Linked DNA regions of Homo sapiens: regions 2, 3, 4, 5, 6 and 7 are each linked to region 1. Evidence: promoter capture Hi-C in 16 types of primary human blood cells and fetal thymus (Javierre and others, 2016). All regions are on one chromosome and are shown on one strand. Each heading gives the region's core, a stretch centred on a gene start or on the middle of the fragment in contact. The rest is flanking DNA. Distances are from core to core; before and after follow the strand shown.

Region 1 (4,043 bases), core at 654-3,153:
GTGATCAAAACAGAATTTTTGGTTACCTCGGGAGAAATTAACCCATTACTAAAGTGGCCTGTAAGGTTTAAAGTATATACTTCTGCCAATGAACTAAATCATCTTATGGGCCAAAGCAAAACAAGAGTGAGCTAAGTGTTCTGTCCCCAGCAGAGGAGGAGGATTTCATGCCCCTCATTCATTCATTCAACAAATATTTAGGTCCTGCTCTGTGCCACACACCAAAAGTGCTGAGCAAACTATGCAACACTGTGCTGTCCCTATGGTCACAGAGCTTACAGTAGAGGAGATAACTGTTACGCACAAATATGTAATACTGCTACGAAAAAAAAAGGTGTTGTATGAGAAAATGGAACAGGAACCAATTTAGACTACAGGTGGGAGAGAAGGGCACTGTGAAAAAAGTGACATTTAAGCCAAGGGGACAACAGATCACCACTACTTAGAAAAGGAAAACCTTTTTTGGCAAATGACCACAAATGGGATTTTAACTTTGCCTGTCAACAACGGACTGGGTTAAACCTCCTCTTTTCCAATCCTTCAGGCTTTCTGAACATCCTGACTAGTGTACTGGAATCCTATTACCTGAACACAGAAAGGTCTCACTTTATTATGATTTATTATTATCTGCAGCCTTCCTATGCCTGGCCTAGGAACATCCAAAAATAATCTGCCAGAGGCTGAAAAACAGAAGCTGGCTGTCAGCAAGAACATTACCTGGGTAGACCAAACATTTAATAGCCCAAGTAATCATAAGTGCCTTGCCAATAAAGTGGCAGCTTCTCTGGGCAGCAAGGTGGTTCCAATGCTCCGGGGTCTAAATCAAATGGGACCCAGGGGGTTCAAAGGTTAGTTGGCTACTTCGAACTGATGTTTACTCAGTAAATCAAAGACCGGATCACCATTTCCAGGTCCCAGACCCTGAAGACTTAAAGGACAGTATGGGAAGTGGCCTTTTAGCATCACGGAGCAGAGAGCTCGCCAGGCTGGAGGAAGGCAGCAGCGAAAGGGTCGGGGCCGGGAGGAAGGGGGGCGCAAGGAGAGGAGCGTCAGGTGCTCTGGACCCCGGGACTGCGAGCCAGACCAGGAACTGGGGCGTTTCCCGCCCCACCCCCCAACCCCTGTCAACCCCCAGCAAAGGCAACCCAGCCCCCTCCAAGACCCCGAGGTTCCAGCTTCCCCCGAGACAGGACCAGGAAGACACCAGCAGCCCCGCGCAGGGCCGGAGCCCACCAGGTCCGGGTGCCCGTGTCCGCAGCGCAGAGGAGGGCGCGCTCGGGTGCAAAAATGGCCAAGACAAAACTCTCCCCGCCCACCCGAAAAACCAACCACACCCCCTGCATCCCTCAGCCCGAGCCGCCCGGGGCCAGCCCCCGTGATCGTCTGCTCAGGCCCCCGCGGGTTCCCGTCGGCGCCGCGCGCGGGCTCGGCGGGCACACGGGCGCAAGTGGGAGTGAATGGGGGTGCGCGAGGCAGGCGAGGGCGCCCACCGCGGTGTCCCCCGTCCGGACCCTGCCCCCGGGGCGCCCTCCCGGGCTCCGCGGTTCTGGGACTGGCGCGCCGCCCTCAAGGCTGAAGTGGACGCCCGGACGCGGGCGGCCCCCACTCACCCATTGGCGTCGAGCCGGGCCGGGCCGCCGAGGCAGCGTGAAAGTTGGCGGAGGCGGGCGTGGGGGTTGGGGCGCCGGGATCGGGGCGCTGGGATCCAGGCGCGAGGGTCCGGACGCGGCGGCGGCTGGGCCGGCTTCTTCCTCAGTGGCGGCGGCGGCGGCTCAGCGCCGCCCGCTGCTGCCTCTGCTGCTGCTGCCGCTGCTGCCCCGGGGCGACTCCTGCTGCTGCTGTTGCATCGCGGCCCAATGCGCCCGGCTGCGCCGGGTTTCCTGCTCCCCGCGAGTGGAAATTGCGAAAAAAAAAAAAAAAAAAAAAAAAAAAAAAAAAAAAAAAAAAAAAAAAACAGCGCCGCCCAGCCCAGCGCCCGGCAGCCGCGGCCGCGCCGCCCGCTCTCCCCTCCTCCTCAGCGCTGCCGCGAGGCTCCTGCAGCTCCGCCTGCCGGGGACGCGCGGCCGCCGGGCGGGGGCGGGGCCGGAGAGGGGCGGGGCCGGGGCCGGGGCCGCGTCGGGGCAGGCGCCGGGGGCGTCCCTGCGGCTGAGGGGCTTGGGCGCCCTCCTCACCGCCCGCGCCAGAGGCACCCCTCTCCGCGCGGCTGCCACCCACCCGCAGCGGCTGGGCTGACGCCCCGGGAAGTGCCGCGAGACTCCTCGAGACCGGAGGAGAGGGGCTTCTTGGGGGAGGGGCGTGGGAGTGCAGGGGCACGTGGAGAAGGAGGAGAAGGGGGCTGAGCGGGAGGGGGCGACAAGAGGTGGAGGACGGGCTGGGGATGGAGACCAGGGCAGGCCCGGGGCCAAACGCCTGACCAGGGTGATGGCAGGTGGCCCTGGGGCATCGAGGCAATCTGGAATGAGTTTTCCCGGGGGGCTGTTGGAGGGGAAGGAAAAGGGTCCCTTGGAAGGGAGAGAAACGCGGCGTCCCTTCGGTGGGGCGTGGGAACGCAGGCAGGCCAGGTGCGAGTTCCGCACAGAGGAGGCGGTGGCACTGACGTGGGGAAAAACGGGCGAAGGACGCAGCGGGGCCGAGGGGACGCATCGCCTCGCTGGGACCCGCCTAAGCCCCGCCCCAGTGCCTGGGCCAGGTGCGGTTCGGGTGTTCAGGAATGTTCCCGAGCTCTGACGTTCCCAGGAATCCGCTGAGATGAGGGCTGGCTCCCTCCCTAGCAGGCATTATTGTGCCTTACTGACTCCCAGACCTGGACGGCCGACCCTTGAGTGGGCGCTAAAATGTTAACAGGGAATCCGTGGGCATTCGTGGGCAATTCAGAAGCTCCGTTTTGGGTCCATTCACCACCACACCTTTCGCCATAGATACTCTGCCTGCCACCACATTCCTCTACCGGCCCGTTATTTCCTTTTCCCTTTCCACCATCTGGTGGTAGGAAGCGATAGTGAACTACATGGGAGACATTTAGGCAAAGAGCACGTAAGACAATAGAGAAATTACATCAGTGGCCCCTGGAAATGGAGGAGGCTGAGGGCTAGTGGACTCAAAAGGGACAAATGAAAGCCGACCCCCTACCCAAGAGAGGGGCTGTCTCCATACCTCACCTGTGTTGGCGGGGCAACTCTTGTAAATTGGTTACCGTCCTGGGATTTCTGTAGAAAATTGTTCTTATAACTGTTTCATGAGTTTTTCAAAAAACCTCAAAGTCAGGGTCTTACAAACAAGAGATCAGTAGCATCATCTTTCTAAATACCGTTCATGTGTGTCAAACCGATCGAAATAGGAGACTAATCAAGGGACAAGAGGCCCATCCACACAGAGGCTGCAATTGAAGTCCTAGTGTCATCAATATCAGACTCCTAAAAAAGGGATCAGAGAACACGGAGATTAAGAATGTGAAGGCCGGGCGCGGTGGCTCACGCCTGTAATCCCAGCACTTTGGGAGGCCGAGGCGGGCGGATCACGAGGTCAGGAGATCGAGACCATCCTGGCTAACATGGTGAAACCCGGTCTCTACTAAAAAATACAAAAAATTAGCTGGGTGTTGTGACGGGCGCCTGTAGTCCCAGCTACTCCGGAGGCTGAGGCAAGAGAATGGTGTGAACCCGGGAGGTGGAGCTTGCAGTGAGCCAAGATCGTGCCACTGCACTCCAGACTGGGCGACAGAGCGAGACTCCGTCTCAGAAAAAAAGAAAAGAAAAGAATGTGAAGTGGGCCAGGCACGGTGGCTCACGCCTGTAAACCCAGCACCTTGAGAGGCCGAGGTGGGCGGATCACCTGAGGTCAGGAGTTCAAGACCAGGCTGACCAACATGGCGAGCCCCTCTCTCTACTAAAAATACAAAAATTAGCCAGGCGTGGTGGTGCATGCCTTAGTCCTAACTCCGTGGGAGGCTGAGGCACAAGAATTGTTTGAACCTGGGAGGTGGAGGTTGCAGTGAGCCTAGATGGCGCCACTATACTCCAGCCTGGACGACAGAGCGAAAAACT
Region 2 (4,043 bases), core at 958-3,457, 240 kb before region 1:
AAATGGTCCAAATGAAAGGGGCTTTTTAGGGGGCTTCTTAGGGGTCTGGGGTGGCACTAAATGGAAATCATGGAAGAACAATTACCCCAGAATTTGCTCTTGACAACTGGAGACAGTGTGTGTGGGCTGAAACTGAAGAATTTTTTATTTTTTTTTTTTTTATTTTTTTTTTTTTTTGAGACAGGGTCTCACTCTGCCACCCTGCTGGAGTGCAATGGTATGACCTTGGCTCAATCACTGCTGCTTCAACCTCCTGGGGTAATCCTCCCATGTCAGCCTTCCAAGAAGCTGGTCTCAAACTCCTGGGCTCAAGTGATCCACTTGCCTCACTCAGCCTCCTAAAGTGCTAGGACGACAGCTGTGAACCACTGTGCCCAGCCCAACTGTAGAAATTCTTATCCTGGTGTCTATGAAAAATGTCTGTCAATAAACATCCCTCAAGCCTTTGATGACAGTAATAATTCCCTTTCCTGACCTGCTACCATTTACAGGCATATTAACATCTATACCCAAAGACACCTTTCTCATATTCCTACTGAATTGTTCACATCTTCCTTTTGGCTCTTCCATCAGCTGTTTAATTTTTGAATGCAGAAACCTTCCCCTCTGAATTGTAAAGCTTTTAGAACTGAATGAGAGGATGAAGATGCTGGGATAAACCCTGGGGTTTATCTCTAGTATAACCCTCTGACTTCACAGACAATGCAGATGATGAAGAGGAAGGCCAAAGGAATAAAATGACTTGCCCAAGTTCACATGGCTAGCTAATAACAGAGCTGGTCCTAGAATATGGGCTTCCTATAAACCCACTCTTTTGAGTAACCCATCCCCCACCATGCTGTTCCTAGAGGGCCAGGTATGTGGATGTAGTTAATAGACGCTTTTAGGACTGAACAAGGCTTGGGCTGGAGCCAGGATTCTCCCACATGCTTAGGCAAGCTGAGCATTTGGAACTGTGTTCATTTTCAAGCCCAGGAAGCCCCTCTTGGACCCCAGAATTACTCTAAAACTATACTGTCCACAGGGAGTAGGCAGACAGTTACCAGAGGCTGGGAAGGGTAGTTGGGGGCTGGGGGGTAGGAGGGATGGTTAATGGGTACAAAAAATAGTAAGAATGAATGAGACCTAGTATTTGATAGCACAAGAGAGTGACTATGGTCAATAATAACTTAATTGTACATTTTAAAATAAAGAGTGTAACTGGATTGTTTGTAACTCAATGGATAAATGCTTGAGGGGATAGATACCCCATTCTCCATGATGTGCTTATTTCACATTGCATGCCTGTATCAAAACATCTCATGTACCCCATAAATATATACACTTACTATGTACCCACAACATTGTTTTAAAAAGAAAATATTTTAAAAAATAAAACTACACTTTCCAATATGGTTGCCACTAGGCACACATGACTATTGAGTGCTTGAAATGTAGCTACTCCAAATTGAGGTATACTATGCCTATGAAATACATATGGGATTGTGAAGACTTCACATGAAGAGAGCAATGAAAGTATCTCATTTAATAATTTTACGTAGATAACATGTGGCGATAATATTTGGATATATTGAGTTAAATAAAAATACATTAAAATTAAGTCCAATTGTTTTTCCTTTTTTTTTAAACATGGCTACTAGAAAATTTAGAATTACATATGTGGCTCACACATGATATTTCTATTGGCTAGCACTGTTCTAAAACACAGTTAACCCCTCCCATTCATTAGCCTAATCCTTCCAAAAAGACTTGAGCCTCCTGCCTGCAGACATGCAGTGGTATCTGGAGATATTCAAGCAGAGATGTGTTGAAGATACCAGTGGGAAGTCAAGGGTAAGTAAAATTGGTCAAGTTCAAGTGGTTAGGCCTCTCCGACCTGAGGGCTCGTGAATCCCTAAAGCGCTTAATTTGCCACTCTCTAAAATCTTTCAGCCACCTTAACTGTGCAAAGTGCTTGTTATATATGGATAAACCCTAGCTCTTCATACGAGTGAGATACATATAGCAGGAGAGAACCACGTTCTGTAATAAGGGGAAAGAAAAAAACAAAAACAGGAGTTCTGAATCTAACCTGTGCCCACCCTAATGGTGGGGAATTGAATGAAATACAATTGTGTACATTTTTCTGATGCGTTTGCAAAAGCTATCAAGGTTATATAGGGATTTCTAAAAAACATTTCTGTTATTGGGAAATCCTTAAATGCTTTTAAATGTGAAACAGATAACTAAGGAAACTCACTCTTTGTCCTGCTGTCCATTTCTGTTTTTGATGAGTCTGGAGTTGCTGTAGTTGCAGGTAACTTCTTCCCAATAGTCTGAGGGGAAAAACAGATGATTTTACTTATCAAGATGATTGTCTCCATTAAGCAAAGGAATAAGATCCAGATCATAATGACAAAATGCTCGAAATTGGTTTAAAAAGCCACATTCTTTGGTTTATGCCCTGCTCTGTATACTGGCTGCCCCCCTTTAATAGGTTTCATCCTCAATGACAAACAAGGGAGAAAAATAGGTAAAAAGGGCTTTATCCTTGTAGGCACTTAGTAGCGTTTATTCTCTTTCTTCCTTTATACTCTTATAAAAGGTTGACTATTTTTAGCAAAGAAAACAGGCATAGTTCCCCTCAGTTTATGAGAAGCTGACTCAGTCTATGGAGGTACAATAGCTGGCCCAACGGAGATGCTCAAAAGTCACTGCAGGCTGGAAAAATGGAAGTAGGAGGGAAGAAATCAAAAGGAAGGGATACAGGAATGGAGGCCCAGGAGGGCAGGACGGGCAGGCAGGTGGATGGGCAGGCAGAAGTCAGGATGTCCAGGACAGTGTACCCTATTGCATCTCTGTCTAGCCATCTAGAATTCCACCTGCCTCCCAGAGAAAGGGGAGATACTCTCATGTCCTCTAAACAGATCTACCTGCCTGCCACAAAGGCAAAAATGAGTCCACCAAGCAGCTCTTTTCCTTATAGTCTTTTAAGCCTCCAAGGGCTTAGAAAAAATCCAGCGCCTCAGACCCTATGCTTCCACTGACTAGTTCAAAAAAAGAAAGATTATGAGTTTGTTTTGAGTTCATTTCCTTTCCTTCATTTGCGGCTAATTCTATTAACATTATTTATGAACTGTCCATAGAGAAGACTGGATCTTATCTCTGCCTAAAGATGTTCCTAAAAACACAGGCAACTCAGCAGCTCAAAAATAGAAAGAAATATACAGATCCATTGGTTCCCAAGGCGAGGTCTGTTCCCACTCTTCCCCTTTGCTACCACACGTGTGTGATCATGATTGATGCCTGAGGGAAAATGTCTATTGATACCAGGGCAACAGCTGTCACGACCACGTAGCTGGGGAAATCAACCTCTCCTGCAACAATGAAGGGTTTTGCCAGTGAGAATTCCAGCCACTGGGAAAATCAAACATCTCTGGCCCTTGAACACATGAAGAGGAATGAACTGCATAATTCAAAAACTGGCATGGTAGAATTTTTCTTCAAAAAAAACTGATTCACCACAGTTTTTAATTTGAAAAAGTTATTCATGCTTCAAACGTTGAACCCAACATTAAATATGAATAAATCACAGAAAGAGGATAAGATAAATCAAATCCTCAGCCCTTCATGAATTTTTAAAAACATTTGTGACAGAAAGCCTTTACGTCTTACACGGTGACATTTTTATTTAGTGCCGCAGGGCCTTCTGTATTGGATAAAAAATGGAAACCAAAATAATATGCCACCTCTAAACTGCCGCTAAGTACTCAAACTAATAACATTTGATGATTCCAGGGGAACATCAGGGATGAAAAAAGCTTGATGTTATTCTGGCATCAGGTCAAATTTGATGAAAAACTGTTCTTAGAATTATTTTGAAAAATCAGGTACCGATAGTAAAAATAGCAGCTCTCAAAGTGTTCATTTCATTCACATTCCTGTTCACACTTCTAGCAGCATCCCTGCCAACATATTTGTTTTTCCCTTTGTGGGGCTGGAATAAAGCATCACCATTGTTAACACATTAGGAAGAGGAAAACAAAAACAACCAGTGCTTCTGG
Region 3 (4,043 bases), core at 643-3,142, 230 kb after region 1:
TCCCGCCTGTAATCCCAACACTTCGGGAGGCTGACGCGGGCGGATTGATTGAGCTAAGGAGTTCGAGACCCCCGTCTCTACAAAAAAATTTTAAAAATTAGCTGGGCATGGCGACTCATCTGTGGTCCCAGCTACTTGGGAGGCTGAGGCGGGAAGATCGCTTGAGCCCGGGAGGTCGAGACTGCAGTGATCACGCCACTGCACTCCAGCCTGGGCGACAGAGACCTTGTCTCAAAAGCAAAATAAAACAAAAAACCTCTGAGGAGGATCTCTCCGAGAAGACACACAAGAAACTGCTAAACGGGTTGCCTCCTAAGTAGGCACTTTTACCACTGCCATGCACATTTATTATCTTTTCAAAAACATTGAAAAAGACATCTTGGCAGGGCCGGCTCAAGCCTTTTGTTTACCCAGGCCTGCCAAGTGATAACCCGTTCCCATGGAGCCCCAGGCTGCATGTTTTTTCTCGTTGGAAGGTGACCAGCCTGAAAGTTTTATTACCACTCCTGGGGGGAGATATACACGATTAAAAATGAAGCTGAATAATGGGTACAGGTTTTCTTTTTTGGATGAAAATATTCTAGGATTATGATGAGTGCACAACTAAGTATACTAAAAACTATTGAATTGTACATTTTAAGCGGGTGAATTTTATGGTCCCTTAATTATGTCTCATTTTTTTTTTTTTAATGTGAAGCTGAAACTCTCAGGAATGGGCACCTGTACTCTTGGCCAAAGCTGGGAAAGTCCCTTTGTGGCACAAAAAATGTTTGTGATGAACGTGTTCCTGACACGCCCAAAGGTGTGCCGGGAGTAGGGTTCAAGTGTGGTGAGAAAGCCAGGAAGTTTAAACATAAATGAGTAGGAAAGTGAGCAGGTGGGGGCTGGTACCCTGAGCTGTAATGAAAACTCGAACACATTGAGATTAAGCCAAATTAAGAGCGTGGGAGCTGTCACTTTCTCCTCCCTTATCTTAGGGACCTTTGGTGAGTTCAATTCATCCAACTCTTGAGCTCATGGACATGTGTGTGTAGCATCCCTCTCTACTTTTATTCTATTTTTGGGGTCCTTTTACTTTCCATTCCTCTCCCTAATTATAAACACCTCCTCTGATATCTTTGCAGCTGCAATTTTGAAATACTGTTTTGAAGATACGCATGTATTTTAATTGTATATAAATGACACTGCATAAAAGCTATCATTCTATTTGTTTTTCCTCTCTTGGCATTGTTCTCAATCTACACAAAATGATTAGCCATTCTATCTGGTTTACCCTTCTGTAAATTCCCTGTTCAATCCTTGCCCACCTTTCCACTGGGCTACTCTGGTTGATTTCCAGGAGTTTCTTGTATTCTAGATAATTTCTGGTTTAAATGTTGCAAATATTTTATCCTAGCCAACTAAGCTTTTTAAGATTGGTAAAATTTTCCTTAATTTTTATGACAAAATCCTATTAACATGTTTACTCCATTTACAATATTGCCCTATTTTTTATCAACTGTTTTTGAAAGTTACATTACAAATACTTCCATGTGTATTTCCTAAGATTATGAATGTTCTGTTACACATACTAGAGTTGACTACCAACTTAAGTTTCACATGGATACAGTAATTTTCTCTCCATTGGCTGTTCCTCCACCTTAGAGGTAGTTTTCCTCTTGCAAAATGCACTGTGGTGAGGCACCTTAAGGCTATGCAGGTACTTACTCTTCGTCAAAAATTCTCTCTAGATTTAGCATCCATTGATGGTTCTTGCTTGATCTGATCTCATAATGATTACGAAGTGATAAAATCCATAAATTTTTCACCTTATGGTTTGCATTTTAAGAAGTCTTAATACGAACTTCCCTAGTCCCAAGATACTCCCCATTGCCCTCATGCTTATAGTAAAAAACGTAAAAAAAAAAAAAAAAAAAAAAAAAAGTAAAAAATGCTTTACTCTTAAGCAATTTTTCTGTATAGGGTGAGGTAAAGAGCCAAATCCACTTTTCTCTCCGAAGTGTAGTTTGGTCAGCACTACCTGCTTACCTATCCTTTCCCCAGTAATTTTTGAAGCCACTTTTTAAAAAATCAAGTACCTAATTTCCATAGTAGGTGAGATAGCTTCTGAGCTATCTATTCTGATCTTCCTGTTACTGCATCTATTATTCACTACTATGGCTTAGGGTGCAATTTATTTGTTGAATTCCCTCTTAGCAGTGTTTCTAGAATTCTTTGAAATTCAGTATTTCCACATGAATATATTTTAGGATGTTTTTGCAATCTCCCACCAAGGCCTGCTGTAATACTAAATGTAATTATATTGAAGTCAGAGGTTAATTTGGAGAAAATTGACATTTTCGACATTATGACAGAATATCCAATAGTGTAATTTCTATTTAAGCTTTTAAAAAAAATGACTTTCGAGTTTTCCGTGCTTTTCCCACTACACTAACTTCCTATAAAAATCTATAGCATGGCCGGGCGCAGTGGCTCACCCCTGTAGTCCCAGCACTTTGAGAGGCTGAGGCGGCCAGATCACCTGTGGTCGGGAGTTGAGACCAGCCTGACCAATATGGGGAAACCCCATCTCTACTAAAGATACAAAATTAGCCGGGTGTGCTGGCGCATGCCTGTAATCACAGCTACTCAGGAGGCTGAGGCAGGAGAATCACTTGAACCCAGGAGGCCGAGGTTGCGGTGAGCCAAGATCGCGCCATTGCACCCCAGCCTGGGCAACAAGAGCAAAACCCTGTCTCAAAAAAGAGGTTTTTGGCCGGGCATAGTGTCTTACACCTGTAATATCAGCACTTTGGGAAGCCAAGGTGGGAGAAGCACTTGCATCCAGGTGTTAGAGACCAGCCTGGACAAAACTGTGGGACCCCCATCTCTAAAAAATAAAAACAAAACATTCGGGCTTGGTGGTGCACCTGTAGTCCCCACTACTTGGGAGGCTGAGGTAGGAGGATCACTTGAGCCAGGGAGGTTGATGCTGTAGTGAGCTGTGATATGGCGTCACTGCACTCACCCTGGGCAACAGAGCAAGATCCTGTCTCTAAATAAATAAATAAATGAATGAATAAATAAATGGCTGAGTGCAGTAGCTTACATCTGTAATCCCAACACTTTGGGAGGTGGAGGCGAGTAGATCACTTGAGGTCAGGAGTTCCAGACCGGCCTAGCCAACATGGTGAAACCATACTAAAAATATAAAAATTGGCCAGGTGTGGTGGCGCATGCCTGTAATCCCAGCTACTTGGGAAGCTGAGACATGAGAATCGCTTGAACCCGGGAGGCAGAGGTCAGTGAGCTGAGATTGCACTATTGCACTCCAGCCTGGGCAACGGAGACTCCATCTCAAAAAAAAAGTTAGTGTCTCTGACAATGCAATAAAAATTTATTAACCTGAAGAGATTAATCTCATACACTGGTACATCCTAACCTTTGAGTACACATCTTTTCAATATTTCATGTGACAAAGTGGGGAATACTACACAAACCTCTTCTGCATACCAATGTACAGCAGTTGTCTCAAGGAAAAGCATTTGTGATAATTTGTATTCCAAACAACTGGACACTTTCATGAAATATCATTTTTACTTGAAAGAAAAGCTGATAAGCTGGTAATTCAAACTTGGATTTGTGTTCAACATTTTTGCAAAAACGAATAAAATTAGCCTGACACTTCAAGGGAAACAAGTGACCATATTTGTTGGTGGTGATAAAATTTGGGCTTTCCAGCATGAAAAAAGTTTTACAAAACTAGTATCTGCTACCATTAGCTTGACAACTTCACTAAAGTAAGAACTTTTCTGAAGAGACAGTGACATTAATGAAATGTGGCATCTTAATACTGTAGAATGAAAAGGGTCAACATATGGAAGATCATACCTCTGTCAGTTTTTTCCAAGTTTTCCAGGTGTGTGAAGTTACAAAGTCCATTCATAGTTCAAAATAGACCAATGAATTATAATGTAACAGTATGAAACGTTTGTTGATTTGGTGTTAGATTCCACAGTGCAACTTAAGAAATCACCTCTTGTCAAGATTGTGTGTAGTATCAA
Region 4 (4,043 bases), core at 706-3,205, 200 kb after region 1:
AAAGTTATTTTTAGTCTATTTCTGCCATATAATAATGTGTCATAAACTTGTAGGAGCTTTAAGATGTACAAATTAGTTGCCGAATCCGGCCGGGCATGGTGGCTCACGCATGTAATTCCAGAACTTTTGGGAGGCCAAGGCAAGCAAATCACGAGGTCAGGAGTTCGAGACCAGCCTGGCCAACATAGCGAAACCCTGTCTGCACTCCAGCCTGGGCGACAGAGTGAGACTCTGTCTCAAAAAAAAAAAAAAAAAAAAAAATGTGAACAAACACTTCACATGGTAATCAACACATGAAAAAATATTGAACATCTTTAATCATCAGGGAAATGCAAGGTAAAACCAATGAGAAACCCATACCATTATACACATACTGGAATGGCAAAAAAAATTTAAATCCCACAAAAAAATTGACTATAGCAAGTACTGGCAAAGGTGCAAAGCAGTTAGAACTTTCATACACTTCAGGTGAGGGTGTAAAAGAATACAACCACTTGGGAAAAGATTTGGCAGTTCTTTCCACAGTTAAAACATACATATGACCCAGCAATCCCGCCCTGAGGGATTTACCCAAGAGAAATAAAGCAAACACAGGACCACAAGGTGGTTTGCACATGCATGTTCACAGCATCTTTATCCATTATTGCTCAAAGCCGGAAATAGTCCAACTATCCATCAGCAAGAGAATGGATAAAACTTAGCCAGGCATGGTGGCACGTGACTATGGTCCCAGCTACTCAGAAGGCTGAGGTGGGACTGCTTGAGCCTGGGAGGCGAAGATTACAATGAGCCCAGGTAGAGCCACGGCACTCCAGTCTGGGTGACAGAGTGAGACCTCATCTTAGACAAAAAAAAAAGAAAGAAAGAATGGATAAAACAGCAATGGAGCAAAAACACTGTGGTATATTCACTGTGAGTGGAACACTCTTTTTTTTTTTTTTTTGGAAATGGAGTCTTGCTCTTGTTGCCCAGGCTGGAGTGCAGTGGCGCGATCTCAGCTCACTACAACCTCCACCTCCCAGGTTCAAGCGATTCTCCTGCCTCAGCCTCCAGAGTAGCTGGGATTACAGGCGGCCACCACCATGCCCAGCTAATTTTTGTATTTTTACTAGAGATGGGGTTTCACCATGTTGGCCAGGCTGGTCTCAAACTCCTGACTTCAGGTGATCCACCTGTCTCTGCCTCCCAAAGTGCTGGGATTGTAGGAGTGAGCCACCGTGCCCGGCCCAGAACACTCTTTAGCAATAAAAAAAACTAGTATTGGCTGGGTGTGGTGGCTCACGCCTGTAATCCCAGCACTTTGGGAGGCCGAGATGGGTGGATCACCTGAGGTCATAAGTTCAAGACCAGCCTGGCCAACATGGTGAAATCTCTTCTCAACTAAAAATACAAAAATTAGCCAGGCATGGTGGTAGCATTTCTTAAACTCCTTCAAAATAAATCAAAAGCCCAAACTTCTTCCCCAAACAGCAGCTTACTCTATTTCTCCCCAAGTGTACTCCAGAATACAAAAAAAGGCAGGACAGATCTTGTTCTAAAAGTACACTGTGCTTCTCTCTGACCTCGCTCAGAAAATTCCACAGCAAGGGCCTGCTGGTACTCGTTTCATTCCCAGCAATACGGAGATGTAATGAAACAGGAGATACATATATGGCATGGAACAAACACTGATGTCTTTTTAACCAAAAACAATCTGTAGATAGACTAAATAGGATCCTGGCTACCTTTTTGGTCAAGGTTATTTGTTTTGAGCAAGATGGTTTGCCTTGAATAAAGCTACCAGTGGCCAATAGTAAATGATAAATTTTTTAAATTATCCACAAGAAATTATAATATCTACAATTCCCAGCAAGAATCTAAGCTTAACCAAACCTTTCCTGTGTTGAGGGTATCTACAGTTAACACATTGTTTTATAAAAATTTATTTAATAAAATATATGGTTCTAAAGAAACAAGCAAAATGTGGATGCTACCAAGTCTCTGCTTCCCCAGTGTTAACCTGCTAAACTCCTGCACATTATAACATAAATAGGGCTTGAATTCCATTCAAGAAGCTTTGGCTTATTTTTCACAAAACCTAACCTGTGCCTTGTATACAGTAGGCTTACAATAAAATATGGCCTCTTAATAACAGTGTTGGGGCTCAGAAGCAGATATCCCAAAATATGGCACTTTGACGTACTGAACTGAAGAAGCCTCAAGGTCTCTCTGACCTTCCCCCTCCTCCCCCTACCAATGTCTCTCCCAAAGCAGGACGAAGTTGAAGTTCCTTTATGTGCCTAAAGTCCAGACCCACCAAAAGGAACATTTATTTTTTTCTTCCCCTCCTTGTAAGACCAGGAATGTAACCACACCTGAAAGACCCGTTCACAAGATAGTATACAAGTTATCTTGTCCACTTATTCTCCCTAGTGATCCTCTCAACAGAATTCCTCTTCTTCCCCCGTCTTATAACTTATTTTGCCAGGATGGTATATAAAGCCTCTGAACCCTGTTGGAGGTAGGTAGTCACTCATGGTTCTCCCTGTATAAACGTGAATAAAATGTGTATGCCTTTTCTCTAATTAATCTGTCTTTTGTGAGTTCACTTTTCAGCAAAACTTCAGAGGGCAAAGGGGAAGTTTCACTGAGTTCTGACTCTGTACCAGGTACGAGTAACAGTGCTTCTCAAGTTAAATACTGATATTTTCAGACTGTAATTTGTAAACTGATTTTGAAACTGTAATTTGACTATTAAATGTTTCTGTTGATAGGAGGATCCAGTGGCTGAATTTATACATCTGGACACTACATTTGTAAGGCAAGCATTTGATTTCTGTCCCAGTACTCACTCACATGGGCCACACACTGAAATCTCAGTTCATTGCTCCCCAGGCTGTGTGACTGATCAATCTGAGACCAGCTTCCACCCAGTTCTCTCTTGCTGGCCTAGCTCGCAGTTCCCACAGCCTCCCAGCCAGTGAAAAGAAGGCTGGCCTCATAGTGACAGAATGAAGGCAGATGACTTGGAAGGGTGTTCGAGGGCTCAAACACACTATTTGTCCATCCCTGGTTTGTTGGATGAATTCCTGCAGTTGTGCCACATCCACCAATTCATCCGGTTTGGGAGCTAATTAAGGAGAATTTAGAGCTAACCTGCTAATATCAGAAGAGGGGAGGGAGGGAAGGGGAAAAGACAAAAATGGAACAGAGACGGAAAAAAGGGTGGTGGCTTATATTATAATTTAGAGAGGAAGAAAGTCACCATTAGCCTGGGCGCGGTGGCTCACGCCTGTAATCCCAGCACTTTGGGAGGCTGAGGCAGAAGGACTACCTGAGGTCAGGAGTCCAAGACAAGCCTGGTCAACATGGTGAAACCCCGTCTCTACTAAAAATACAAAAATTAGTTTGGCGTGGTGGCACGCACCTGTAGTCGGAGCTACTCAGGAGGCTGAGGCAGGAGAATCGCTTGAACCCGGGAGGCAGAGGTTGTAGCGAGCCATGATCGCGCCACTGCACTCCAGCCTGGGTGACAGAGTGAGACTCCATCTCAAAAAAAAATAAAAATAAAAATAAAAAATAACCATTAAACAAGAATGCAAGAACGCTGGTCAAAAATCTATAGAGACTGAGATTAGTAGTTGGGTGGCCTAGGGCAGGGGGTTGGGGTAAAACAAGTAAGGGATTTCTTTTTGTGGTGATGAAAATATTCTGGAATTGATTGTGGTGATGGTTGCATGACTTAATATGCTAAATCCACTGAACTGAACGCTTTAAAGGGGTGAATTGTATGACGTATTAAAAAAAGAAAGAAAAGAAAACTGGCCATGTATCTGAAAACCACAATAAAACCATGTCCAAAGCACAAAATATTAAAACCACAACTAAAGGATGAGAACAAGTGAAAACCAGAGCACCCTGGTATATGTATAAATGGCTTGTAATAACAAAAGCAGAGGAGTTGTATTCCTTGTTCCAAAGCAGAGCAATATGAATCTGAAAATCAAATATTTAAGGCATTTATTATAAACAACTTGCTTTATGTTTGGAAATGCAAGTAGCTT
Region 5 (4,043 bases), core at 280-2,779, 190 kb before region 1:
AGCACGGGGCAGCTGGGCCAATTCCAACCCACTTAGTTTGAAGATGTCTGGAACATTCCTATTCCTAGTAATAAGTGGCTCCTGCCCAAGATCCCTGAGGGAAGCCTTCCTGATGTGTAGGAAAAGCAGGCTGTCTGCTGGGAAAACAGACGTATCTTCACCTCACCACACCCTCAGATGCCAGTATCACTGTCACAGCACAGTCTGAGAAGAGTGGCCTATGGGAAAATGGCAGAGGCCTATCATTAACCACGCAGTAAGTGGAGGGGCAGACAATAAAACCACTGCTCATCGCCTGGGGACACACTTCCCATCACAGGTGCACCATGGGCACGATGCTCATTTTTCTGTGAGCTGGAGCCCTTCATGGGGGTGGTGGGGGTGGCCCCAGTACCAGTGAGAGTCGTTCAGTACTATTTCCTTCTATAGCCAGGCCAGCTGTTTTGGTCTCGAGACTGAGGCTGGAGATAAGAGAAAAATGATACCTCACACTATCCCTCTTCAGAGATATTCTAGTTCAACTTCCTGTGTAAAGACGAGGACACGGACACTGCCATGTGATTTCATTCATTCATTCATTCACTCATTCTAAGAGTAAAGCACAGTGCCTCACACATTGAATGAATGAATGAATGAATGAATGAATGAATGGCAGAGACATTATTGGGAAAAATCCTCCATGGGGGCCTAAAGAGCCCTGATTTCCCCCACAGAAAAAGGTTTCCTTCCTGTGAGGAGCAAAAGGAACTGAGAGATCCTAACTATATTTGCCACTGTTCTTAACTAGGTACTGCCACACCCAGGACTGTGTGGTCCTCCCAATTCCACCAATATTTAGTAAGCACCTATCTTGCACTGCCCCAGTACCTGGGGACAGATTCACTGCTGAACAAAACAGATAAAGACTCCATCCTTGAGAAGTTTCCAACAAGAGAGAGGCAGTTACAGAGCCTGAACAGCCCCTGCTTGGAAATCAAGCTTGCTTATGTTTGCATTTCTATAGTTAAGAAAAGAAAGAAATGCGTCTCTTTGTAACAAAGTAGGGATTACGAATACCACACCAAGGGCTTATAACTTCCACCCCAAGGAAAGGACAATAATAAAAGGGGGCAGATGCCGTTCCCCACTCATAAACAGTCTTCTGCAGGCCTTGGCTCTAGGCTGAGAACAAATCCCACCTGTGTCCCTCTACGACCAACCCAGTCAGCTCTGGAGCCCTTTGATTAGTTTTGCCTCTTCTAGAACTTCACATAAATGTGCTAAGATACAATTTCACCGTGCCCCAAGAGTGAATCTCACCTTTGGCCCAGAGCTGGGAGCAGAGCAGCTTACACCTGGTAGCGTTTGAGAACGATGGAATAAAACCACTTCAACAGTTTCTATCTGAGGGCCTTGCAATTTTCATGTCTTTACAATCAACAGCATCTAAGTGGGTTCAGGGTCCAAGGAAGTAGTTTTTAAATCTTAACCCTGTTGGAGATTGGGCAAACACCTGGGTGAACTTCAATACTCCCATCCCCACCCCTTCTTGCACCCCATTTGTAAGGCACTAAAGAGGAAGTCTGTGACTGAAAAGATGGCGTGCTCCCTGTGAGTGCTTGGCTATTCAGGCCAGTTCCTATTTATCACCCCTGAAGTTTTACCTGTCAACTGGACTGAGAAGGGGTATGGAGGCTTTATCAGGTCTACAGTCTACCCAAGGGCACAAGTAGCAAGACAGAAAAAGTTCATCTAAGGATGACTATAGCTTTTTTTCATCCAGTGAATACTTTGATACCCAAACCCCAGTCAGAAGCACACTGGAGGGGTGGGTTTGAGGGAAGCCTGGGGTTAGGGGGATGCACCCAGACAAACGAAGTCAGCTTCATTGTTTCAAGAGTTGTTTTACCATTCTTCCCATAAAAGAAAAGTGACACATCAAAGTCTAAGGAAAGGCCCACACCTTAAAGCTGCTAAAATTTTCCTCAAATTTTTTTTTCAGGAGTAACTAAATGAAAATTGTAATACTGTTCCTTTCTCTTACTTGGGAAAGGTGTTTTGAGAATTTTTAAAACGCTAAAAAAATGTTAAGACAGCTTTTAAAGCTTTTTTAAAATTGAAGTATAATTTACATAAATGCAGAACTTAACAATACAAGCTGATTAGTTTTGACAAACGCCCATTGTAGCCAACACCTCTATTAACATAAAAAGCATTTCCATCACTCCAGAAAGTTCCCTGTGCCCCTTCCTAGTCAATCCACCTCCAAGCAATCATTAATCTGATTTCTATCACCTTTGATTCATTTTACTTCTTCTAGAACTTCATATAAATGTGCTGAGACATAATTTAACTTTTTAAATATCGCTGAAAATAATACAAATTATTTCTGGTAAACATGTTTTTCTATCAGTAGAACTGGTGAAAAAAAAATATATCTTTAAGGGGGGCATTTCCTGAAGGCATAAACACCTACACTATTTTCAATCTCAGAGGATGTGGGAAAGCTGGCTATGCCAAATATAAACAAGCATTATCTAGGTCCTAAATGGCTGGACCAATATTTTCCCCTAATTCTTGTGTAGTTCATTGTATGATTACCTCTTTCTGGCTGGGCCAGAACATTCCATTCACATAGGGAAGCTGATTTTCATTCCCTCCCCTCACTCTTCTGAGAACAAGGCTATTCTACATGAGAGGCGGCCCTCGAAGAGAAATCTGTAGAGTAATTGGAAGGGAAGTCATTTAAGAAAACATATACAATTTCTATTTAAGACTTAGGCCAACTGCCCAACAAGACAGAGCAACATCCATGATTTTTCATCAGAGTGGAAAGGGTTTCTGGTAGAGCTTTCGGAAACTTCCTTCAGCAGTGCTTGATAATCCTGTCCTTCAAAAACAGCCACAGGTCCCCAAATTCCTAAGTGAGTCCAATACTAAGGTCTTTCTATCATTCCAATTAAAAAATATGAACAAATGGTAACACAAGCCAGCAAGATAACCTTTCTGATGAATCAAGATCCTCAAGTTTTCTCCCATTGCTATTTCCAGGTGAGAAAATGGTTATGGGGATATGTTCACCTGGGAAACCTCCAGATTAGGAATCTTTAAACAGGCGCTCCTTTGAAAGTTCAGTGTGGCCAGCACTATAACTTTGATCTCAACCCCATTTCATTGCATCCACCAGCACCTGCTTTCTATACTCTACACCTAAAGTATTAGGGGAGGTCTGCATTAGGGGAGGTCCCAAAGTTTCACAGGTCCTCCCCTAATGCAGAGCAAGGCTCTACTAACACCATGTCCTCCTTCCTCCAGCACCTAACACAAATACCACTCACCATCTGCATCTTCAGTTGAAACCTCACCTATTCTACAAAGCATCTTCTTCACCCTCTGTGACTACTCCTATTTTTAAATTCCTCTCTCGTTCGTCAATGCCATCATTTGCCACTCTGGTAACATCTTGGGTTGATAGTTACCTTAGCTGTGTATATCTTGCCCTCCCTCACTAGACTGAGCATGTTTCAAGGGACAGGTTCTGTTCAATCAATCCCCAAATCTCAATAAACACAGTTTCTCTCAGAGTGTAAGCACTGAAATATTTGATAAATCCCACAGCTATGCAAATCTATTATAAATACCTTTAAACTTGCAAATATGCTACTTTTATATGATTGCAGCCTGTTTTGCATGCTGATGATTCAAATCTAATCAACTTTCTCTTCTAAACACGGCTTCCTTCTCCTTAATATGAATGTTTTACCATCTCTGCACATTAGGAAATCAGAGGTTTTCACCTCAAAGTTATTTGGAGAAATAATTGTAGAACAGCCCAAGCTCTTTGGATTATCAAATTCCAATAAGCAGATATTTTATATTAATGTTATCTTCTTTTTGCAAAGAGATACACACCCTTCTAAAGCAAGGCGATTATCTTAACAGGTCAGAACTTCAGTATGCTTCGATCACCTATTAACTGATCAGCCTTTGAATAAACTTGACTTCTCATGGGCAAAAAATGACATGAGGATGTGGGCCTATCCACACCCACAAAAGTTGTCTGA
Region 6 (4,043 bases), core at 954-3,453, 180 kb after region 1:
TTTTGAGACAGGGTTTCACTCTGTCACCCAGGCTGGAGTGCAGTGGCACAATCAGCTCACTGCAGCCTCGAACTCCTGGGCCCAAGCAATCCTCTCACCTCAGCCTCCCATGTAGCTGGGACTACAGGCATGTGTCACCATGCTTGGCTTTTTCTTTTCTTTCTCTTTTTTCTTTTTGAGACGGAGTCTCGCTCTGTTGCCCAGGCTGGAGTGCAGTGGTGCGATCTTGGCTCACTGCAACCTCCGCCTCCCGGGCTCAAGCGATTGTCCTGCCTCAGCCTCCTGAGGAGCTGGGATTATAGGCATGCGCCACCACGCCTGGTTAACTTTTGTATTTTTAGTAGAGACGGGGTTTCACCATGTTGGTCAAGCTAGTCTCAAACTCCTGACCTCGTAATCTGCCCACCTCGGCCTCCCAAAGTGCTGGGATTAAAGGCATGAGCCACCGCGCCTGGCCTCGGCAATTTTTTTCTTATTTATTTATTTATTTATTTATTTATTTATTTATTTATTTGTAGAGATGCAGTCTCACTATGTTGCCCAGGCTGATCTTGAACTCCTGGCCTCAAGTGGTCCTCCTGCCTCAGCCTCCCAAAATGTTGGGATTACAGGCATTAGCCACTGCACCCAGCCTATAATATTTCTTATAGCTGCGTGTGGATTGACAATGACCTCAAAATACAAAAGTTTAATTATTTTTTAAAAAAATCTGGCCCAAATGTGAAGCCCTGGGAAGGACCTAAAGGGGATACCCTCTCAGAGATGCCCTACCCAGGAGAAGGACAAAGAGCACCCATGTCAGAGCCACCCCTTCCCCACTGTTGATGCAATAATGTTTCCCAGGGCAACAGCATCCAGGCAAACTTGCAACTCTGAAACAGAGGTCTTTTCCTGGGCAATTAATTCCTACAAAAAAATTGGAATAAAACAGGGATACTGAGCAGTCAAACAACTATCTTATGTTAACAGAAAAGCATAAAATCTCATACTTGACTGAGATCCTACTATCCCTGGGCTGCAGGAACACATTTTTAAAAACTAATTTTAAAATGAATTTTATTAGCTTGAAGTACTCTCCTATAGAATATTAATGACCTGATATTAGTCAATTATTCATGGTAAGAACCACTATCAAAATACAAAGTTTTAAAGGGAAGCCAGCTGTGTTCAACTTTGAAAAATTAATCACATTAAATGAATTTTAAAATAACCTTTCCGATCACACTCAGATTTGTGCAACTGCAATGTCCAGAAAAAAAGGGAAGGAGGAATGAAGAGCTCATCCAATAGGAAATACAATGAAGGGTCCTCACCTCCTCTGGGGAGCCATCCTGATCCCTTCAAGGGGTTGCCAGGCATCCTCTGCTCTGTGGACTCACAGGCACTGTTTCCCACCTTAATGGTCACTCTTGGTTGCACTGTGATGATCTGTTTAAGCATGTGGAGACCACCGCTTCTCAACTTTGGCTATACAATGGAATCACCTGGAGAGCTTTCAAAAATATAGATGCCTGGGTCTCCCTTCAGATTCTGATCTAGTCAGTCTTAGGTGTGGTTTAGGCACTGTTGCTTTAAAAGCCCCGCGTGTGATTCTAATGTGCATCCAGACCTGACAACTGTCCTAGCCCACTGCTCACCACACTTGAGCATGCATCAGAACCACCTGGAGGGCTTGTGAAAATGACTGCTGGACATCACCTCCAGAACTTCTGATGGAGTAAGTCTGGGGTGAGCCAGAGAATCTGCCTTTCTAACAAGCTTCCAGGTGAGGCTGACACTACTGGTCCAGGGCCCACACCTTGAGAACCAGTGTTCTAGATTATGGTGATTCTACAGGGCAGGGCCCTCCCTGTGGCTACTCTCTGTATGACAGAGCTCAGCAGAGTGAGCCCCAAAACAGTCTGCAGAAGGAATGACTGATCACCTGCCACATTCCTCCACAGTGTTTACCTTTGCCAAGGTTGTTACTGTCCTACATGCTACTGTCTAGGTCTGTTTGTTTTGTTTTGTTTTGTTTTGTTTTCCGTGGAGGTGGAAGGCAGGGGCAGGGGGACTGGGTCTTACTATGCTGCCCCTGGTTGATCTTTAACTCCTGGCCTCAAGCAATCCTCCTGCCTCAGCCTCTCCAGTCGCTGTGATTACAGGTGTGCACCACCCTGCCAGGCTTTGGGTCTTTTCATTTGACCCTTGTCCTCTAAACTCTTGTCTTATCTCTGAATCTCTGGCACCCTAAAGACTGGGAGGGACTCAAAAAGTTGCTGAATCAAAGGGCCACGAATATTATGTCCCATTGATGGAAACCTCCCAATTTGCAGAATATTTTAACCTCATACCAGAAGTGTCTATAAAAACAACCAACATTTTAAGGCATCTTTGTACCCATTTTTCTGCTAGAGTTGTGGGAGGAATACAAGGGTAAAGAAAGGAAGGCACTCCATGAGCTGCTCCCCATAGCCCCACCCCCAACACACACACAGATTAATCTTTCCATTGAATTCCATCAGTGCTCTGATTCTCACAGACCTTTTTCCTCTTTACTTCACATTCGGGTCCTTCCCTCTCTCATTCACCACCCTCAGGCACAGGAAACTCTACCCTCCCGATGCCCTCTCTCGCCAACCCTCCCTTTCCAGTCCATCCATCAGGATACAAGCTTCTTAAGGGCAGGGCTATGTTCCATTTCTTCTTGTAGCCCCCAAAGGGCCTAGCACAGTGTTTTGTGCACAGTAAGCACTCAAGAAATGTCAAGTTCATGAAGGGGAAGCAGTAACATATACTGAGCACCTCAGTTTTTGTTCTGTCTTGGCCTCCAGGGGATTGGAGGATCCCACCCACGTTGAGGGTGGATCTTCCCCCACCTAGTCCACTCAGACTCACACACCAATTTCCTCTGAAAACACTCTCACAGACACACACAAAAATAATGCTTTACCAGCTCTCTAGGTATTCCCCAATCCAGTCAAGTTGACACTAAAAATTAACCATCACACTGGATAAATATAATATGGCGTTATACATCCATACAATGAAATAATGTTCAGCCATAAAAAAGGAATGAAGGGGATGGGAGACATTGTGAAACACTACTAATGGGTTCAAGATTTCTTTTGGGAGTGATGAAAATGTGATGGTATTTTAGGCAGTGGTGACAGTTTCACAACATTGCGAATGTACAAAATGCCACCAGATTACACTTCAAAATGATTAATGTTATTATTAGTAAATTATATTGCAATAAAAGAATTTGTAGTGCTCCCCCCCACCCCAAAAAAAGCAAAATACCAAAAACCACATCAGGGAGTGTTCCACAACAAGGCTTAAAATCCAGAGCCTAGTTGATCTTATCTGCGGCCTTCTCCCAAATCTTCTAGGTTGCCTGTTTTTCCTTTTCATCCCAAATATCTAGATGATATATCTGGTTCCAAAGGCAAACCTATGTGGTACATGTGAGTATGTAAAAATCATATATATTTCTATAAAGTATCTTTGTCACACAATCCCAACAGCTTTGTTATTAATTATACTTTGTAAAACTGGGGAGCAAAAATAAATGTTAGCAAGTTGGAAGAAAAATGAGTGTTTATTTTTAAAAGGGGATGAAAAAAACTGCCAATAAATGATAAATGTGTTGTGATAAACAGCTGCTGTGATGGTTACATGAAATGTGTGGGAAGAACTTCCCGTATAATAAATGCTCATTAAATGTTGCTGGCCATTATTTTTAGAGGGGTTCTTTTCTTTTCTTTTTTTTTTTTTTTGAGATGGAGTCTCGCTCTGTCACCCAGGCTGGAGTGCAGTGGCACAATCTTGGCTTACTGCAAGCTCCACCTCCCAGGTTCACACCATTCTCCTGCCTCAGCCTCCTGAGTAGCTGGGACTACAGATGCCCGCCACCACGCCTGGCTAATTTTTTGTTTTAGTAGAGATGGGGTTTCACCGTGTTAGCCAGGATAGTCTCGATCTCCTGACCTCGTGATCCGCCTGCCTCAGCCTCCTAAAGTGCTGGGATTACAGGCGTGAGCCACTGCACCCGGCCCATTTCT
Region 7 (4,043 bases), core at 415-2,914, 170 kb before region 1:
AAAGGTGTCCATAGTACACTAAAAGACTAAATCACGTAATATGTATACTATGATCCCAATTTTATAAATACACACACACACACACACACACACACACACACACACACACTCATAACTCTAAGCAGCATGTAGCATTTTAGTTACTCCTGATAACTCGGAACCTAGCACAGAGTATACATTCAACAAATGTTCATTAATAAATAAATGAATCCATTCAACATTCAACTAATTTATGAAGGTCTAATACAATTAAATGAATGAGGGCAACAGAGTAAGAGACTGTCTCAAAAAAAGATACAAATGAATGAGAGAAAGGGGGTATATGTACACGGACACACTTGTGTAAGCACAGAAAATGGTATGGAAGGCTATACCCCAAAGTAACAGTGATACTTCAGGGGAGGCAGATTGGGGGAAGGGTAGAAACTCATTTAAATGCTTCTACAATATCAATTTGTCTTCACAAAGAGCACGTAATATACTGTAATCACTTTTTAAAAACATCACAGTCACCTATTAAAATAATTACCTTGCATTATGAAACTTACCTTTCTGATCACACTTTGATTACATTAATGGTAAAGTGAGTTGGTGTTTTGAAAGAAATAAATATCAATTCAATCAGCAAGAAAGGTGCTTTTCATGGGGCTGAATGACAAGGGGCCTCGGACCTCCCAATGACAACTGGTTGTGGCTGGTCTACGAACACAGCAGGAGGTGTGAGCTCAGAGACAGGGCTCCACATCTGTAGCCCACATTAGTCATTATTCTGATCAGATGCTGTTACAGAACCCTGAGGAGGCCCATACTATTCCATCAGTGACCAAGCCAAGGTTATCTTCCCTGGCCAGACACCACCAGCCTACACAGCCCAGACAGCCATCTCTCACTAGGTGGAGGGGCCCTGTGGTGTCCATCTTCCGAGCTCGCCCCTCACTCATGGGAACACATACATACACACACACATACATACTCATTCATTCAGCCGTGGGGGCCCCTTCTCTGGGTTCTCCTAACAACCATTGCTTTTCTCTAGCACTGTCCTCCTTCCATTGTGTTTTTGTTATCTGTGAGTGTCGGTTGCTGTCTGTCTCCATCTTTTCAACCCTGACACCTCTCAGCTCTTTCACGCACATCTGTATCAACCAATTCGACTCACTCACATCTGCCTCATGATGGTTAGGGCGATGCCACTGCACCACTCTAGATCCCTATGTGGACCCCAGGTGCCATATATCTAGAAAATCCCCGATCCAGGCCCTCCTCAGCCCTATGAACTTCAGAGTCTAATGCCTCATTTAAAGAAGTCACTGAAAACTGTCTTAAATTTGGGCAATTAACATCTGACCCCCCCAAATCAAGTTTCTACTTCCAACGTAATAGTCAAAGGGGCCATCCATTGAATAAACTGAGTTTCTGCAAAGAGGAGCTGTATATGTATATTTTAACATTAACATTGTCATCTGATATTTCTTTAGAAGCCACATCTGTAATTTTGGTGCCATGAGCATGAAGAACTCAACATCCTCCACCTCAACTATATCTTATAAAAATGATATGTGAATTAGCCATGTGAAAGGGTGCAGGGGCTCTGATTTCACTGCTCATGGATACGTGGTCTTCACTTAAAGCATTAAAGCACATAAAAGAGAACCCTGGGGCCAGGCATGGTGGCTCACACCTGTAATCCTAGCACTTTGGGAGGCTGAGGCAGGAGGATCACTTGAGCCCAGGAGTTCAAGACCAGCTTGGGCAACATAGTGAGACCCCACCTCTAACTAATAATAATAATAATAATAATAATAATAACAATAATAATAATAATAATAGAGAACCCTGAGTTAACAATACAGAAGAGACAAACGGCCCAACTCACCCAGCATTGCAACCCCTGCGTGGCTCTCTGCCTCGGTTTTCTCACGTATAAAATTGGGATGATGGAGACAGACCTACTTTCCAAGGGGCTTACTTCCACCTGACTCTCTCCCTTTTTTCCATTTGGCTTTACATTCAGGAATCTGTTAAAAGACAGCTCTGTTAATGTTTTTTTCACCAGCCTTCCCTTCCAATCAGAGTGAGATAAAGGAATCACGTCATAACATAAAATCAGTGACGTCTCTAAACGTCCCTCTGCTTTTCATCTTTCTTCAGGCTGGTCCCAGGCATTGGTTTTGGCCTTTCAGCACAACCCTCAATCCAAATAACCCAACCTCAGCAGGCCATACCAGGGACACTTCCCTAATGTGTCCCTGGCTTGACTTTCCCCCAGCCCTGGCAGCTAGCTCTCCAGAGGAGAGGGAGTCTGGATTTTCAGAGGAGAAAATCCAATACGTAAAGCACACTGCTTTTCCCTGCAAGGCTAATTTTGGCAAAATGCCCAAAAGAACTCAACATATTTATAGGGTTTTGTTTGATCTACTTTTAAACGCTCCATGCAGAGTCATTCAAGTGAAATGAGAATACAGAATTTCAAAGGAAAAATTGAAGGAAGGTTCTAAATGTAAGTTATTTATTGAGCATAAACAAGATTTCTCCTTTCTATCCAACATACTCCCTCTAACATATCTATTTTTAAAGGCATTCTCAAACTTTGCTGCTGACAAATGAATATATCAGACACCTAACTTTTACAGTTAAAGGTAGAATGGGCAGGGAGGGGGAAAAGATGAGGGAATGAGGGGTAGGAGAGGAGAAAAAAAGACACAAACATTTGAAGAACTGTAACAAAGGTCTAGAAAATCCTAAAGACCTTCATCTGGGATACTTCTGTCTTGCCTAATCTTAGAGAATTACTGGGAGGTATGTGTGTGTGGGTTGTGGGGGTGGGAGATACACACCATAAACAAATCTAGGGTTTCCCAGTTTTTAAAATCAGTACCAAAAATGGCCACTGTGCTCGGAGATTTAGAAAGTGTCAAAGAATTCCACATGTACCCTCTCTTTTGGGGGTAGGGGGAGATCTTCATTGCAGGTAGTCATAATATTTTTAAATTTTGACTCATTTTTAATATAGTTTCCCTTCTCATCCCCATCAGAATAAAGAGGGGAGGAAGCCTAGGTATTTCTGAATTTTCTTGATGCAAATGGGAGTTTATATCCCTGCAATTCATTCCTCATAATCTGAAAGGCTAAACCCCTTAAGCAGAGGTCCTTAACTGGGGTGTGTGGATAGAATTCAGGGGGTCTAAACTTACATGGGAAGAAAAATACATCTTTTACTATCTTCTGAAATTTGGCCTTTATTCTCACCGTGAATCTAAGCAACAAACCACAATGGTACTAGCAGCATCTATGAAATTTATTTATTTCCCACTACATGAATAGATATTTTCATTTCATTTCACAGTTGCAGTTATCTTGAACTATCATTTACACTCACCCCTGCTTCAAAATTATGATCACCTCCTGACCCACTGCTGGATGTTGCTATAATAAAGCATATGTCTTGCTTGTATTTTTGTACTATTTTGACAACTATTTTAACATAATTGGTTTCCTTTGTAATTCTTTGGTTCCCTTTTTATTCATTTACCAACATTATTCTGAAAAGGGGTCCACAGGCTTCACCAGACTGGCAAACAGGTTCCATGGAAATTTTTTAAATAAAAAGAACCCCCAATCCCTGCTTTCAAGATTGTAATTTCCAGGCTGGGTGCAGCGGCTCACACCTATAATTCCAGCACTATGGGAGGTCAAGGTGGAAGGATCCCTTGAGGGCAGAATTTCAAGGCCTGAGCAACGTGGCGAGAACCTGTCTCTACAAAAAATAAAAATAAAAAAATTTAACAGAGCATGGTGATGTGTGCCTGTAGTCTCAGCTACCCGGGAAGCTGAGATGGGAGGACCACTTGAGCCCATGAGTTCTAGGTTGCAGTGAGCCATGACTGCACCACTGCACTCCAGCCTGGGCAACAGAGCAAGAACCTATCTTTAAAAAAATTACAGTTTCCAAGGAAACCCAAAGGTACAAGGGTAAACTATTTATATTTAACAAAGCAGTAAACATAACATTTGGACTCTGTTCATTGGAATGCTTCATAAGC

What was found. The method cuts DNA at HindIII sites, captures the fragments that hold promoters and counts their contacts. A CHiCAGO score of 5 or more calls a contact.
Region 2: a fragment that was not itself captured here is called in contact with the fragment with the promoter of SH3KBP1 in region 1 in 13 of 17 cell types (activated CD4 T cells, naive CD8 T cells, total CD8 T cells and 10 more); the score reaches 12.1 in activated CD4 T cells.
Region 3: a contact is called between a fragment that was not itself captured here and the fragment with the promoter of SH3KBP1 in region 1, in 13 of 17 cell types (activated CD4 T cells, total CD8 T cells, naive CD8 T cells and 10 more). The highest score is 8.5, in activated CD4 T cells.
Region 4: a fragment that was not itself captured here is called in contact with the fragment with the promoter of SH3KBP1 in region 1 in 4 of 17 cell types (total B cells, megakaryocytes, non-activated CD4 T cells and 1 more); the score reaches 6.1 in total B cells.
Region 5: a fragment that was not itself captured here is called in contact with the fragment with the promoter of SH3KBP1 in region 1 in 16 of 17 cell types (activated CD4 T cells, total CD8 T cells, non-activated CD4 T cells and 13 more); the score reaches 21.5 in activated CD4 T cells.
Region 6: a contact is called between a fragment that was not itself captured here and the fragment with the promoter of SH3KBP1 in region 1, in 9 of 17 cell types (total B cells, naive B cells, total CD8 T cells and 6 more). The highest score is 8.3, in total B cells.
Region 7: a fragment that was not itself captured here is called in contact with the fragment with the promoter of SH3KBP1 in region 1 in 14 of 17 cell types (activated CD4 T cells, naive CD8 T cells, total CD8 T cells and 11 more); the score reaches 15.9 in activated CD4 T cells.

Annotation. Positions count from the first base shown.
Region 1 is chrX:19,885,697-19,889,739 of GRCh38, forward strand. SH3KBP1 (SH3 domain containing kinase binding protein 1) reads right to left here and starts at 1,904. Exons shown (of 18, transcript NM_031892.3): 1 at 1,611-1,904. The coding sequence starts at 1,614. RefSeq lists silencers at 1,306-1,445, 1,926-1,995, 2,056-2,355. The HindIII fragment of the contact is 9,463 bases long and covers 1-4,043 here.
Region 2 is chrX:19,643,161-19,647,203 of GRCh38, forward strand. SH3KBP1 (SH3 domain containing kinase binding protein 1) reads right to left here. Exons shown (of 18, transcript NM_031892.3): 7 at 2,240-2,315. LOC124905255 (a long non-coding RNA gene) reads left to right here. Exons shown (of 2, transcript XR_007068406.1): 2 at 1-1,600. Among named protein-coding and RNA genes, the nearest start is that of MAP3K15, 130 kb to the left of the region's middle. The HindIII fragment of the contact is 3,181 bases long and covers 618-3,798 here.
Region 3 is chrX:20,117,826-20,121,868 of GRCh38, forward strand. No RefSeq gene overlaps it. Among named protein-coding and RNA genes, the nearest start is that of MAP7D2, 2.9 kb to the left of the region's middle. The HindIII fragment of the contact is 978 bases long and covers 1,404-2,381 here.
Region 4 is chrX:20,090,126-20,094,168 of GRCh38, forward strand. All of the region lies in intron 1 of MAP7D2 (MAP7 domain containing 2), which reads right to left. Among named protein-coding and RNA genes, the nearest start is that of MAP7D2, 25 kb to the right of the region's middle. The HindIII fragment of the contact is 193 bases long and covers 1,860-2,052 here.
Region 5 is chrX:19,698,267-19,702,309 of GRCh38, forward strand. All of the region lies in intron 4 of SH3KBP1 (SH3 domain containing kinase binding protein 1), which reads right to left. Among named protein-coding and RNA genes, the nearest start is that of MAP3K15, 180 kb to the left of the region's middle. The HindIII fragment of the contact is 1,106 bases long and covers 977-2,082 here.
Region 6 is chrX:20,069,790-20,073,832 of GRCh38, forward strand. All of the region lies in intron 1 of MAP7D2 (MAP7 domain containing 2), which reads right to left. Among named protein-coding and RNA genes, the nearest start is that of MAP7D2, 45 kb to the right of the region's middle. The HindIII fragment of the contact is 895 bases long and covers 1,757-2,651 here.
Region 7 is chrX:19,718,071-19,722,113 of GRCh38, forward strand. All of the region lies in intron 3 of SH3KBP1 (SH3 domain containing kinase binding protein 1), which reads right to left. Among named protein-coding and RNA genes, the nearest start is that of SH3KBP1, 170 kb to the right of the region's middle. The HindIII fragment of the contact is 4,751 bases long and covers 1-4,040 here.